Linked DNA regions of Homo sapiens: region 2 is linked to region 1. The links are contacts of gene promoters, found by promoter capture Hi-C in human tissues and cell types (Jung and others, 2019). All regions are on one chromosome and are shown on one strand. Each heading gives the region's core, a stretch centred on a gene start or on the middle of the fragment in contact. The rest is flanking DNA. Distances are from core to core; before and after follow the strand shown. Region 1 holds the start of PARP15 (poly(ADP-ribose) polymerase family member 15). Region 2 overlaps FAM162A (family with sequence similarity 162 member A).

Region 1 (6,537 bases), core at 2,979-5,478:
CATTTCTGGAGTCCTTGCTACTAATTTGGAAAACTGAGCTTCTTTCTTTCATTGCTTTTTCCCTTAAGAGACAAGTCCTTACTATATTGCCCTGTCTCTCAAGGGAAGACATCAAGACTGGACTTGAACTCCTGGGCTCAAGCCATCCCCCAACCTTGGCCTCTCGAGTAGATGGGATTATAGGCATGTGCCACGGTGCCTGACTTGAGTTTCTTATTCTAGAACACTTGGAGCCTGAACTCTGACCAGGCCCCTCACTTGAGCCTTTGCTTTCTGCTCCTTGTAAACTGCCATATTGGGTGCACTTGCCCTGCCACAGTAATGCTATATATTTCTGAGCATTGTTTTTCTCTAGATAATTTTATATTTTTGAGTATACCCCACTTCCAAGTGTTTTTTGTTTTGTTTTGCTTTGTTTTTGTTGTTGTTGTTTTGAGACAGGGTCTCACTGTGTCCCCCAGGCTGGAGTGCAGTGGCACAATGACGACTCACTGCAGCCTCAACCTCCTGGGGCCAAGTGATCCTCCCACCTCAGCCTCTCAAGTGGCTGGGACCACAGAAGTGCACCACCATGCCTGGCTTTTTTTTTTTTTTTTGGTCGAGATGGGGTGTCCCTGTGTTGCCCAGACTGGTCTTGAACTCCTGGACTCAAGGGATCCTCCTGTCTTGGGCTCCCAAAGTGTTGGGATTACAGGCGTGAGTGACCATGCCTAGCTCACTTCCAGGTTTAACAGACAAAATAAACTTACTCTAGTTTCCATCTCTATCATTTTATAATAACCGTAGCCCACATTGTAGTAGTTTTTCAGCTCTTTACTAAGTCCCACCAATTCATGTTTTCACCCTTAAAATCTTTCTCACTGATACTCTCTCTGGACAGAAAAAAGGTGAAATAAGCCTACTATAAGGAATATATGACATGCTAAATTTTATTTTTAAACGGTTCTTCAAGTCAGATTAAAGTAATAATAGCAAATTATGTGATTATCCATGTCCCAGCCTCTCTCCAAAAAAATAGTAAACAAGATGTCTTCTTCTTTTCCCAAAGATACACATACACACATGTACAAATTTTTTTATCAGATAATAATAGCTAATATTTAATGAGTACTTACCTTAGTTTGTCCCCTTTACAACAGCTTTACATCTGTGTGATTGATACAGTTCATATTCCCATTTTATAACTGAGAAAACTGGTGCACAGAGAGGATAAGCAACTTGCCAAAGGTCACACAGTTAATAAGTGGAAATGCTGGGGTATGAACCAGGTAGTCTGCCCCCATAGCTCTGCCCCCCAGAGCTGTACTGTCTCCCATGAGGGTACTTCTCCATGGAGCAGCCTGAGGCGATCCCTTTATTCTGGGCTTCTCTCAGAAATGGATTCCCACACAGTATTCAAAGCAAATTTCCCCAGAGGAAATCCTATTGGAAGAACTTAAAAACTCAGAATCTTTTTCTTTGTCCAGAGAGTTGAGGAAGCTTAAGCTAAATGATACATGTTTTTAAAAAAAAATCAGATTATAAATTTAGTTTTTGGTGATTCATTAAATTCTTTACTATTATAGTTATTTTCTAGCTGTTCATCTTTTAGCTAAATTTGTTCCAAAGAAGCAAAAGTTTGGTTTCTACTAAGTTCTGGATTCTGGATGGGAGATTGCACTGTGTGTGACATGCAAGTTTCATGGTGTGGGAGATTGCAGAGCATTTGGGTTACTGCTTTTACTCTTTGGAAGCTGTTATCATCTGTATCTGCTTTAAATAAAGTTAAAGATTTGGAACAAATTGTGTTCTTTCCCTTGCTTCTTTTTTTTTCCTTTAGGTTGAGATTCTGGGTGTTTCCTACAACACACACAGCATACAGTTGTATAACATGTGCATGGAGATCTTTGGTTGATTTTGTGTGTAGCTGCTTCCTAAATATGATCACAGTACAACTTAACTACTCTTGACTTCACTGCTGTTACTTTTGGCTGTAAAAATCACATTTCTCAGTATTTTTTCCTTATAACATATAGGTTATAAAGATAAAAGTAGGCTGCAGATATCATCTCTTCTCTCCTGGAGAGAGTATATACAATACCCTATCAAACTATATTTGCCCTCTCCTTGCTTCTTGAGGTTCTGTTTCACCTCTCCAACATTGGTGCTGAAGTACCCAGACAGGTCATTGAGCACTATTAGATCAGGGGCACCCTTCTCTCCAAAGAAAAAATAAAATAAAAGAATAATACATATTTGATGCTTCCCTGAAAATAGCATCAAAGTAATCATTAGGAGAAAAATAAGATCTTTATTGGACTTCCTTACACTTACCGTAATAGTTTAGTGTTTACAAAAATTATCCAGGCATGGTGGTACACATCTGTAATCCCAGCTATTCCGGAGGCTGAGGCATGAGAATTGCTTGAACCCAGGAGGCAGAGGTTGCAGTAGGCTGGGATCAGGCCACTGCACTCCAGCCTGGGCAACAGAGCGAGACTCTGTCTCAAAAAAAAAAAAAAATGTTTAGTACTGTTTTTGGTTTGATTTCCATACAGAAGTTAGGTGCTATTTCCTTTTTTATCGATTGGGTCATTTTTATTGATCAGATCTAAAACATAGAGCTTGATGCAAAGATTAAGATATTAATAATTTTGGAGGTCCAAGCCCAAGGACAAACAAAAAGAGAAGTGAGGCAAAGTAAGATGTAATGTAACGCGGTGCTAGGGGTTATCACCCTGGTTACTGCTTCACAATGAACCTGATGTTGCTGGTCTGGGAATTACATTTAGAGATCCACTGGCCTAGAAAATAGAGTTTAAACTCAGCAGCATGGCCGTTAGCGATTGCTCATGCCACTTTGCATACTTTGTGCTCCTTCCTCACCACCAAGTCCCTAGGGTTCAGTCACACCAGACTACAAGATTTTCCAAAGCACAGTCTATGCTTTCATTCATGTGATCTTTGTTCTGTGTAATCCACCCCCATCGCTGCTCTCTGCATGACAGATGATGAAAAAGGGAACTCTGAAGAGAGAGAGGGAGAGAGAGACACACCTCATTCTCATTCTTCACCTGATTTTCCTCTTAGAAAGTCCCCTACTCATCATGCAAGGTCTTACTGAAATGCCACTACTATAGAAACTTTTCTCCAATCTTGTCTCTAAATTACAACGAACCACTGATTTCTGTTATCCTAATACTTTATATGTATCTCAATGCAAATACGATACCAAAACCTTTTACCCTGCTCTCTGCCTTGGAGGTGGTACTGAGGGCTGACCTCTAAGTACCACATCAGCTCCATTCTCTGATTACTCATTGGGTTCTGCAGTGGGAGGTACCAGCACGAGATTGGAAGGCACACGGAGAGAGTACTTGGGATGCTTATACTCCCCTGGCTGTCTTCCGAAAGCAGTCATGGGTTCTACCTGCTGGCACTTGGTATAGCTCTTACCAAGTTCAGGAGATGCCCCCTCCCTTGCCCCTTCAGCCTAGATGGTAAGGGGAGGAGGCTACTTCACCATCTCTCAATGGTTTCCTTAACCCTTTGCCCACACCTGTGTAAATAATTTCTTTATTAAATTATCTTCAATTATTAATTTTGAGTATACCATCTGTATACTGCCAGGACTTTTCGTGATACACCAGGTAACAGTATTAATCTATGTTTTATTTCTCCACCTCCTACTTCACCCCTCACTCCAAAGAGAGGGGATCTGTGTCTAATTCATCTTTATAATCTTAACACAGTGCCAGGCATATCAAAGGCCTTCAATACGCGTTGATTGAATTAAATAATGCCCTGTTGGGCCAGAGGGGAACCTGACTCCAGCCCTGGCTTAGGGAGCACAGGAGAGAACCCAGTGTATTTTTCTAAATATGGGTGTGTAGGGAGAATTGGGGGGAAAGGAGTGGGATGCCCAACAGAAAAGGAAAGGAATACTGATTCCTGTGTTTTAATGTGCCAGGCATTCTACAGACTTTATCTCATTTAATCTTCATTATAATAACATGAAATAGTTATGGCTGTGCCCACTGTACAGATGCTATTGACTGAGGCTACATAACTAATAAAATTGCAGACCTCAGGATTTTGACCCAGGATTTGTCTGGCAGTAACGTCTGTCCCAAAGGGCGACACAATCCTGAGGCAGCTGTTCGCAAACTCGAGGCCTCAATCTTTGACGGAAGCGGTTTTCAGAGAAAAGAAGTTCGAGGCACAAGCCTGTTGGGTGGGGCGCAACTGCAGTCCCAGCGAGCTGAGGATGGCTGCGCCAGGCCCCCTTCCTGCCGCTGCTCTGAGTCCAGGGGCTCCGACCCCCAGAGAACTTATGCACGGAGTTGCAGGTGTTACTTCCAGAGCCGGACGAGATCGGGAGGCGGGGAGCGTGCTGCCGGCCGGGAACCGTGGGGCGCGGAAGGCCTCCCGGCGCTCTTCCTCCCGGAGTATGGTGAGGAGCGCGGGGGACGGGTGCGGGAAGGGGACAGCAGGGCTGAGCCTGGGGCCCGCAAGACCCAGCAGCCCGAGCGGGCGCAGAGACCCCACGCCACGCACAACCCTCTCTTCTAGGGGGCGCCGACTACACTGACTTCCCTGTTCCGGAAGAGGGGGATGCGTGCTGCTTCTTTTTCCTTAGCATTTCTGGTGGTTTTTTTTTTTTTTCCCTTAAAATTTAAAAGTTCTTTATAAAGTTTGAAAGGATATGAGTCCTTTATTCGTGATATGTGTTATGAATATGTCCTCCCAATTTATTTTTTGTTTTTTGAGTTTGCTTATGGGGGGCTTTTGTTTCTCTTTGCCATGCAAATATTTTAAATTTTGTGTGGCAAGACTTACCAGTCTTTTATTTTATGACGTCTAGACTTTTAGTCATATTTTAATATATGACTTTTAGTCATACTCTTCCCTACACCCAAGTTATAGAAGAGTTCACTCATGCTTGCTTCTAGTACTTGAACTGATGTATTTTTTACATTTAGATCTATAATACATTTGGAGTGTGTTATTGTGTGTGGTTTGAGGAGTGAATCTAATTATTTTTTTTCAAATGGGTATCAAGTGTCCCAACACCATTTATTATAAAGGTCGTCACTGTCCCAGTAACTTGAGATACCAGCTTTATCATGTACTAGACTTTCATATGTGGTTCGGGTATTTCTGGACCTTCTATTTTCATCCATTGACCCGTTTATTCATCTGCTTTAGAGAGGCTTTGCTGTATGTTTTAATGTCAGGGCTAGTCTTCCTAGAGAGTGCTTCCTTGTCACTATTTTCCTAGCTATTCTTGTTGTTTATTTTTCCTTATGAACTTTTCTGATGTATGATCAGTTTAAAAAAAAAAAAGAAAAGCTCTTTGGAATTTTTATTGGGATTGCATTAAATTAATAAATTACAGAGAGCTGATATCTTTAGGTGGTGTTGACATGGTCTAACCTACTGTGCTGTGAAAGATTGAAAATTTGAGTATGTAATGTATATGATATTAAATTGTGAATTGGTGGGACATATGTAACAGCTTTTCAACAATTGTAGATACTGGTACTTCATATCCTCTTAAGGAAAATTTGCCTCCAAATTTTAAGCTGGAAAGTCACTAGAATAACTTTTAAAAACAATTACAATACATGACTTTTTAAACTTTTTTGTGTGTGTATGTTAAGAATAGTGTACAAATTGAAATATCTGTGTACTGATCCTCGACACAACCAATGAAATCTCCATTATGAAGGAATGTTTTGAAGCACATAGAAAAGGAAGCGAAACAAAGGATGCCTTTTCATTGTTTAAGTCTATTTTTGTGTCTTTAAAGAAGGTTTATAGTTATCTTCACATAAAACATTTCAATTTTTCTTTTTTCTCAATATTATATATGAGGTTTACTCATTCGCTATGTTGTCTATTTACGTGTATGTATGCTTTGATGTTTTCTTTCATTTTAAAAATTAAGGTGTAATTTACAGACAGCTTTTCTATATTTAGAAAATTCATACTTTTTAGTGTATACTTCTGTGAGTTTTGACAAATGTTTACCAGTATAATGAAGATATAAAAGAGTTTTCTACCAGTTTCTTTGTCTTCAACCTCTTCACTCAAGATGAGCTCCTGGCAACCACTAGGGTCATCTTTTGGTCCCTGTAGTTCCAGAACGTCATGTACATGAAATCATTCAGCAGAGAGTCTTTGGAGCCTTAGGTATCACTAATTTGCTACTGCTTTCTATTAATAGTTAAATTTCATTGTGGTCAGAAAACATATTTTTCATTATTTGAATTCTTTAAAATCTATGTATTGAGGGCCGGTCGCGGTGGCTCACGCCTGTAATCCCAGCACTTTGGGAGGCCAAGGTAGGTGGATCACTTGAGGTCAGGAGTTCAAGATCAGCCTGGCGAACATGGTGAAACCTCGTCTCTACTAAAAATACAAAAATTAGCCAGGCATGGTGGCACACACCTGTAGTCCCAGCTACTCAAGAGGCTGAGGTAGGAGAATTGCTGGAACCTGGGAGGCAGAGGTTGCAGTGAGCTGAGATTGCGCCACTGCACTCCAGCCTGGGTG
Region 2 (6,537 bases), core at 3,279-5,778, 170 kb before region 1:
CTATACCAGCAGAAAATAAGCTGGTAGACACCCATGGCCTTAACAGATGCTGTATAGGCTTTGCTATAGAACACCTTCCTCAGTCTGCCTAATAGTTGGTTCCAAGATCCCCTCAGGCCCAAAATACTACCTCACGAATCACTCTGGAAGGGTCTTTTCTGGGCCTGGGCAGCCATTTGTCCTTGTGCTGGTAGTTCTGAACAGGCACTGCTTAACTTGCCCATTCCTATTACTCCCTATGGAATGGATTACTTTTCATGAGGATCATGGCACTTCAAATCCCATAAAATACCGTCAACATGGGAAGTCAGTTTGTGGTTAGTGGAATCTCAGGTGCTCCTAACTGACCAATTTGACAGTCCTTAGCAGTTGTCTTGGGTTCCTGCCAGCCTGCAGGCCCAGCTTAAGTGCCTGGAGAACCCCGTCCACATGCTGCCTCACAGGTCCCAGCTCCTACATCACATTGTACATGGCTTCATCATCTTCCTCCTTCCACCTGCAACATCCCAGACTCTTTGCCTCCTTCCAAGCATTTTTAAAGTACTCCCCTCCCCAATTTTAAAAGTAATATATGTTAAATATCTCAGGGGAAAGAAAGCACTTCAATCCCATCATCTAGAGATAATCACTTCCTATTTACACATCTACTGAGAAGGCCATAAGTTAATCCTGGGCCCCATAAGGGCTCCACATCCCCTGCCTTGAGGTTCTGCCAGACACCGAGGTAACAGAATCGTGACCACCAGGTGTGGCAATGCATGCCTATAGCCCCGGCTGCTCAGGAGGCTGAGGCAGGAGGATCGCTTCAGTCTAAGATTTTGAGTCAGCAACATGGTGAGACCCCATCTCTTTAAATAAAGTAAATTAAAAATAGAACCATGACTCACTGCCTACTTGCAAAATCACCAAGGTAGATTGGCCTTTAGACTCTTCTATATTAAGCCTCTTAGGTTTCACACAAGAATGATGAACCAACCATCAACTTTTTTTTAAGGCACATGGGTCTGTATTCAGTAGATAGGTTAGAAGAGCTGCACTTTGGCACTTGCCAAAGACCACAATATCAAGTTCACTGTCACTCAATTTTAGCAAAACATTTGTTTAAAAAGATAAATATTGAGGAGCATTGCTTAAAGGATCTTCCTACTATTTTAGATATTCTCAAATCTATTCTGGGTTCAAGACAGAGAGCAAAAAGCTGGGTATATGGAGCACATTGGTTAACTTTCTCCAATGTTTGATCATTCTGAATTGTGCTTTGTGTTGAAACATATGAAGCTTATTGTAGTATCTGTTGTCGAGATGTTTTCAGACGATGACTACATCACATAATGTCTTCTTAAGAACCTCAGGGAGAAATGACTGTTTCACTTCTAGCATTTATAGGCTGCTTGGAAACCTGAGAGCCAAAATTGGGGTCCACCATAGCAAGTGTAGATTAATATGCCTTGCCCATTTTTTTTTTTTGGCTTTGTTCTTGACTTCTCTTTTTGTTTTCTTCTTTTGTACTTAATTGTGTGCTATCCTGTATTTTATACATAAATGAGTTACGAAAAATGCCTCATCCTCCCCAAAGTCCTATGAGATCTCTAGGCCCTTTTTAAAGAGATCTCTAGGTCTCCCTATTTATATTTATAGACACTACTACATTTTGAATTTATACACAGCCTTTTATCCTGAGCAACTTCAGAAAGGGAAAAGTTAATAACTTTCTCTCATGATCTCATTGTATTACTAGGTTGGAGATGCTTGATGCTGCAAAGAACAAGATGCGAGTGAAGATCAGCTATCTAATGATTGCCCTGACGGTGGTAGGATGCATCTTCATGGTTATTGAGGGCAAGAAGGTGAGAAGGGGTTTCTTCTCTATCCAGTATGTATGTTCTCCACCAAGAACCTAGAGTAAATCAGGGATTGACCCTTGTATTTACCCTCTGAGAAGAGGAGGCTACTTTCTACATTACATGAGAAAAGATAAGCAAAAAAATAAGACATATTGGGAACAAGCCTGGAATATCATCCTTGGGGATAGATAGCAAATCCTAACTTTGGCGTGGTGAAGAAGGACTAGATTCATTTTGTGTAATGTAAATTTAAAAAGTGTTTCTGATGACAGGTGTCATAATGTAAATTAAGAAATAGGACACTGGCATATTTAATCACCCACTGCATATTTCCAGAGTGCTCTTGGTACCCAAGTGTATTTACCCTCACCATAACTGCCTTCAGCATGGTGAGCTTTCTTAGCGGGGTTCTTTATTTGAAGCTCAGCCAGACAGGGCCATGTGTCTAAGGACCACAGCTCCTAAGCAGTACATAGGAATACAAGTCCAGAAATCTTTAGCACAGATTATAATTAATAGCTATCACTAATTGAACACTCACTGCATTCCAGGTACTTTTCTAGCTGGTATCTCATCTGAACCTCACAAAAACACTGTAAGATAAGTATTATTAGGACCTGATTTATAGATGAGGAAAACTATAGCTTAGAAAGCTTTAGTAACTTGCCCAAGGCCACATATCTCCTTAATGACGAGCCACAGTGTGAACCTAGACCCAATTCAGGTAATAGGAAAATTCCTCCCATTTATTGAGTGCTTATTATGTAACAGGCACTGTTAAGCTCACTTAATCACCCCCATAACCCTAAGAGGTAAATAGTTTTCCCAAACTCACACAGCTAACAAGTGGCAAGATAAAAATCTAGACCCAAGTTTGCAGGTTACCAAACCTCATACTATACTATCTTGCTATTAAGCCATAGTTATTTTTATATTCAGCAGCTTTGGTCAAATTCTTCTTTTAATACCATGTATAATTCTATATATCACAGCTTCCATGTGGAAAGTGATGTCTTACAACTACTTTAAGATACTAAAAAGGTCCTTCTATACACGCACTCTTAACTGACTTTCTTATCCTCAGTAATTCCAGAGTAAAAGGAAATGTACTTTTGGCTGTCTTCATTCTTGCAGTTAAATGGAAATACTGACCATTTTAGGCTGACCTCATGGGAGTACGAAGGGGCAAATGTGCTGAGCTGGGTGAAGTTCTCTTGAAAACTCTGTTCCCACCCCACTTCATTTTTTCTTGTCTCCCTCTTTGACCTCTCATGCATAGTTCTCAGATTAAAACCAGCAGAAACATGTGGACAGGACTGTGAGCTTCTAGGATTCTGAGAAATTTGCATTGCTTTTGTATACTCGATTGTACTAGCTGAGTTTAAATACTCCAGAAGCAAATTATTCACCTGGAATCTCTTCTAGCATCATCCAGGGGTATATGCTGTGTATTTTAGAGAGTTCTTCTCCTGTTCTTTACCATAAAATTGTAACATTTTAGTTTTATGGAATTTCTGTTTCCATAAATACTACTGGAATGGAGAACTTTTGAACTCAATGTGATTTGGAAGAGAAAAATTAGCCATTGTATATTTTGCTCTCACCATCAACTTCCCTTTCTCCCCCCGCTCCCCCACCCCCCGCCACATACCCAATTCTTTTACATATGAAATTACACAGATAGAAGGAAATATCAGCTTAGGGTGCTAGTTTCACTATTTGGTATAAAAGTGTTGAAACTGGCCTGTATGTAAGCTTCATAGAAATCTGACCGTTTACATGGAGGGAAACAAGGGAAGAGGACGGTTGCCTCCCCCACTCAAAGGTTGGAATTGTAGTACAGATACTCGTGGAAATCATCAATGGTAGTATTTGGGTAAAGTCTGGGATTCCCAAAGCTGAATGTTTTTGGTAAAAGAGAAGTGAGGAACTAGAAGGATCTGAGTATGCAGATAAGTTGGGGAAGGAGAAATGGCAGCAACAGAGAAAAGTGAAAGAAGAAAAACGGGATAGAAATGGCAATGAGAAGGTATTTAGTATAAAAGAGAAGTGGGGTGGAATGAGAAGAAAGTATAAGAGAAAAGGAGAGGATAAAGACTGAAAGAAAGGGGCCAGAAGGGAAGAAAAAGGAGAGGTGTGGCACTTCTTACTTATGCTTGAGTGGATGAGCTGCTGTTCTTGGAAGCGTACGAGGAAGTTGAAGCACATAGAGGAAACTGCCGTGCTCAGTGTGCAAGCAGCAGAGGACTCCATGCCTCCATGCCTCTGTTAACCTGCTGTCATCAGTGCAAGGTAAAGACACCCTCCCCTGACCAGCATACAAATCACCTGTTCAAATCTGTTTTGCTTTAGGCTGCCCAAAGACACGAGACTTTAACAAGCTTGAACTTAGAAAAGAAAGCTCGTCTGAAAGAGGAAGCAGCTATGAAGGCCAAAACAGAGTAGCAGAGGTATCCGTGTTGGCTGGATTTTGAAAATCCAGGAATTATGTTATAACGTGCCTGTATTAAAAAGGATGTGGTATGAGGATCCATTTCATAAAGTATGATTTGCCCAAACCTGTACCATTTCCGTATTTCTGCTGTAGAAGTAGAAATAAATTTTCTTAAATAATGACTGTGTTTTATTGTTTTGATCCAAGTCAAGTGTAGCCTCTCAGCCTTTTGGAGAAAAATGAAACAATTTATTTCAACTTGAATACCAACTCTTCAGAGAAGCAGGTACCATATCTTACTTCTCTTCCCATTATCAAAGTAACCTCTCCACAGGCGAACTCATTTTGAGGAGATAAGGAAGGCCAGTTGAGTATATGGCCCAGGTGCAGCTTGGAGGGCCAGCCTTCTCAAATGTCCTGGTGTACTGGTGGGGAGGCTGCCCCCTAATAGAGCGAGCGCTGAGAAGCAGCCAGACCACATTCTATAATCTTTGAACATGCTGGCAGATGGAGGCTTTTAGGAGAATAGTTTTTTAAACATTCTGACAAGGTCCAGCCAGGAATTTCTAAGGACTTAGAAATCCCAGCGTCATGGAGTTGCTTGGGGTCAACACAAGTCACCTCTTAGCTTCATGCCTTAGAATTCTCAACTGGCTGTTTTCTTACCACCTGAGAAACTAAATTTCTCAATTATAAAAATCTCATGTATTATTACTGTTAGAAGTATTTGCACCTCATATATATCTCATTTACAGTTTGACCTTGGGATATCGAGTTGTCTCATATTTAGGTATGAATACAGGTTTCTATTTTAAACATTGATTCTCACATGCTTCTTAATTATTCATGGATGACAAGCCATTATAGTAGTCCCTTCTTATCCACGGCTTTGTTTTCTGTGGTTTCAGTTACCTGAGGTCTGAAAATATTAAATGGAAAATTCCTATAACAATGCATAAGTTATAGATTACATACCATTCAGTGTAGCATGATGAAATCTCTTGCCAATCTGTTCCATCCACCTGGGATGTGAATCATCCCTCTCTCTGGTGTATTCACACTGTATGTGCTAGCCGTCTCTGTTACGAGATCAGCTGTCGTGGAATCAGTGCTAGTGTTCAGGTAACTCTTATTTAATAATTGCCTCAAAGTGCATTGTGCTGTGCCTAATTTATAAAATAAACGGTATCATAGGTATGTATGTATACGAAAAACATAGTATATGCAGGGTTGGGTACTATCCACAGTTTCAGGCATCTACTGGGGGGTCTTGGAATATATCCCCAGAGGGTAAGGGGTGACTACTGTATACAGCCATGCCAACATGCTGGTTCTCAGAGAGTTATAAGAGAGATTAAAAATACATGCAGCTGTTTGGGCACTTTCTTCCCAAATAAAATACCCAGTAAAATGTAACATACTACCTATAGCTTGATAATCTATCTGAGGATGTTTATGATGTCTGTCTATATACTTTAATTTGGCCTTAGCTTCTTTGTAGGTATCAAGTTATCACTTGCAAATTTATTTTCAAAAAGCATAGTTTCTTGTACATTTTAGAAGATTAGTTTTTCTTATTTTGGGACACCTACACCAATGTTTTAAATGTGGATAAATTTTAATGTGGAATTTCTTTTAAAAATAATCCTCTTCATAGAGCAATACAACAAAAATGTGTTGTATCTTGGAGATTTACATTATAAATGTAGTAACATTTATGAGCTTAAATTTAATGAAACCTTTTTTTTTTTTTTGAGACAGTCTTGCACTGTCGCCCAGGCTAGAGTGCAGGGCATGATCTCAGCTCACTGCAACCTCCGTCTCCCGGGTTCAAGCAATTCTCGTGCCTCAGCCTCCTCAGTAACTGGCATTATAGGTGTGCACCACCACACCTGGCTAATTTTTGTATTTTTCATAAAGACGGGGGTTTCACCATGTTGGCCAGGCTGGTCTCAAACTCCTGACCTCAGGTGATCAGCCTCCCTCGGCCTCCCAAAGTGCTGGGATTACAGGCATGAGCCATGGTGCCTGGCCAAACGTTTTTATTACAAATATTACATTAAACTAAAGCTCACAACTGTTATTATGCATCAGGAATTAACAGTCATTTCTCATTTGTGTTATTCTCCTATTTGATAACATATAGTGACTATCTCTTTATGGGTTAAATATCAGTTTCTTGGCCAGAATTCAAGATCTGCCCCTAACTAATCCTACTTCTCCCAGTACCCTTACAGCACTCCTACCCTACTAGTAACT

Evidence for each region. Contacts are between HindIII fragments. The study calls those that stand out against the background at their distance.
Region 2: a fragment that was not itself captured here is called in contact with the fragment with the promoter of PARP15 in region 1 in 1 of the 25 tissues and cell types used here (bladder).

Annotation. Positions count from the first base shown.
Region 1 is chr3:122,573,422-122,579,958 of GRCh38, forward strand. PARP15 (poly(ADP-ribose) polymerase family member 15) reads left to right here and starts at 4,229. Exons shown (of 12, transcript NM_001113523.3): 1 at 4,229-4,432. The coding sequence starts at 4,247. DTX3L (deltex E3 ubiquitin ligase 3L) reads left to right here. Exons shown (of 5, transcript NM_138287.3): 5 at 1-1,782. RefSeq lists enhancers at 2,612-2,661, 4,196-4,475 and a silencer at 4,536-4,585. The HindIII fragment of the contact is 9,405 bases long and covers 1-6,537 here.
Region 2 is chr3:122,405,543-122,412,079 of GRCh38, forward strand. It overlaps FAM162A (family with sequence similarity 162 member A), which reads left to right. Exons shown (of 5, transcript NM_014367.4): 4 at 1,739-1,847; 5 at 4,197-6,537. The coding sequence ends at 4,289. It overlaps WDR5B (WD repeat domain 5B), which reads right to left. Exons shown (of 1, transcript NM_019069.4): 1 at 6,304-6,537. Among named protein-coding and RNA genes, the nearest start is that of WDR5B, 7.3 kb to the right of the region's middle. RefSeq lists an enhancer at 918-967. The HindIII fragment of the contact is 5,283 bases long and covers 1,888-6,537 here.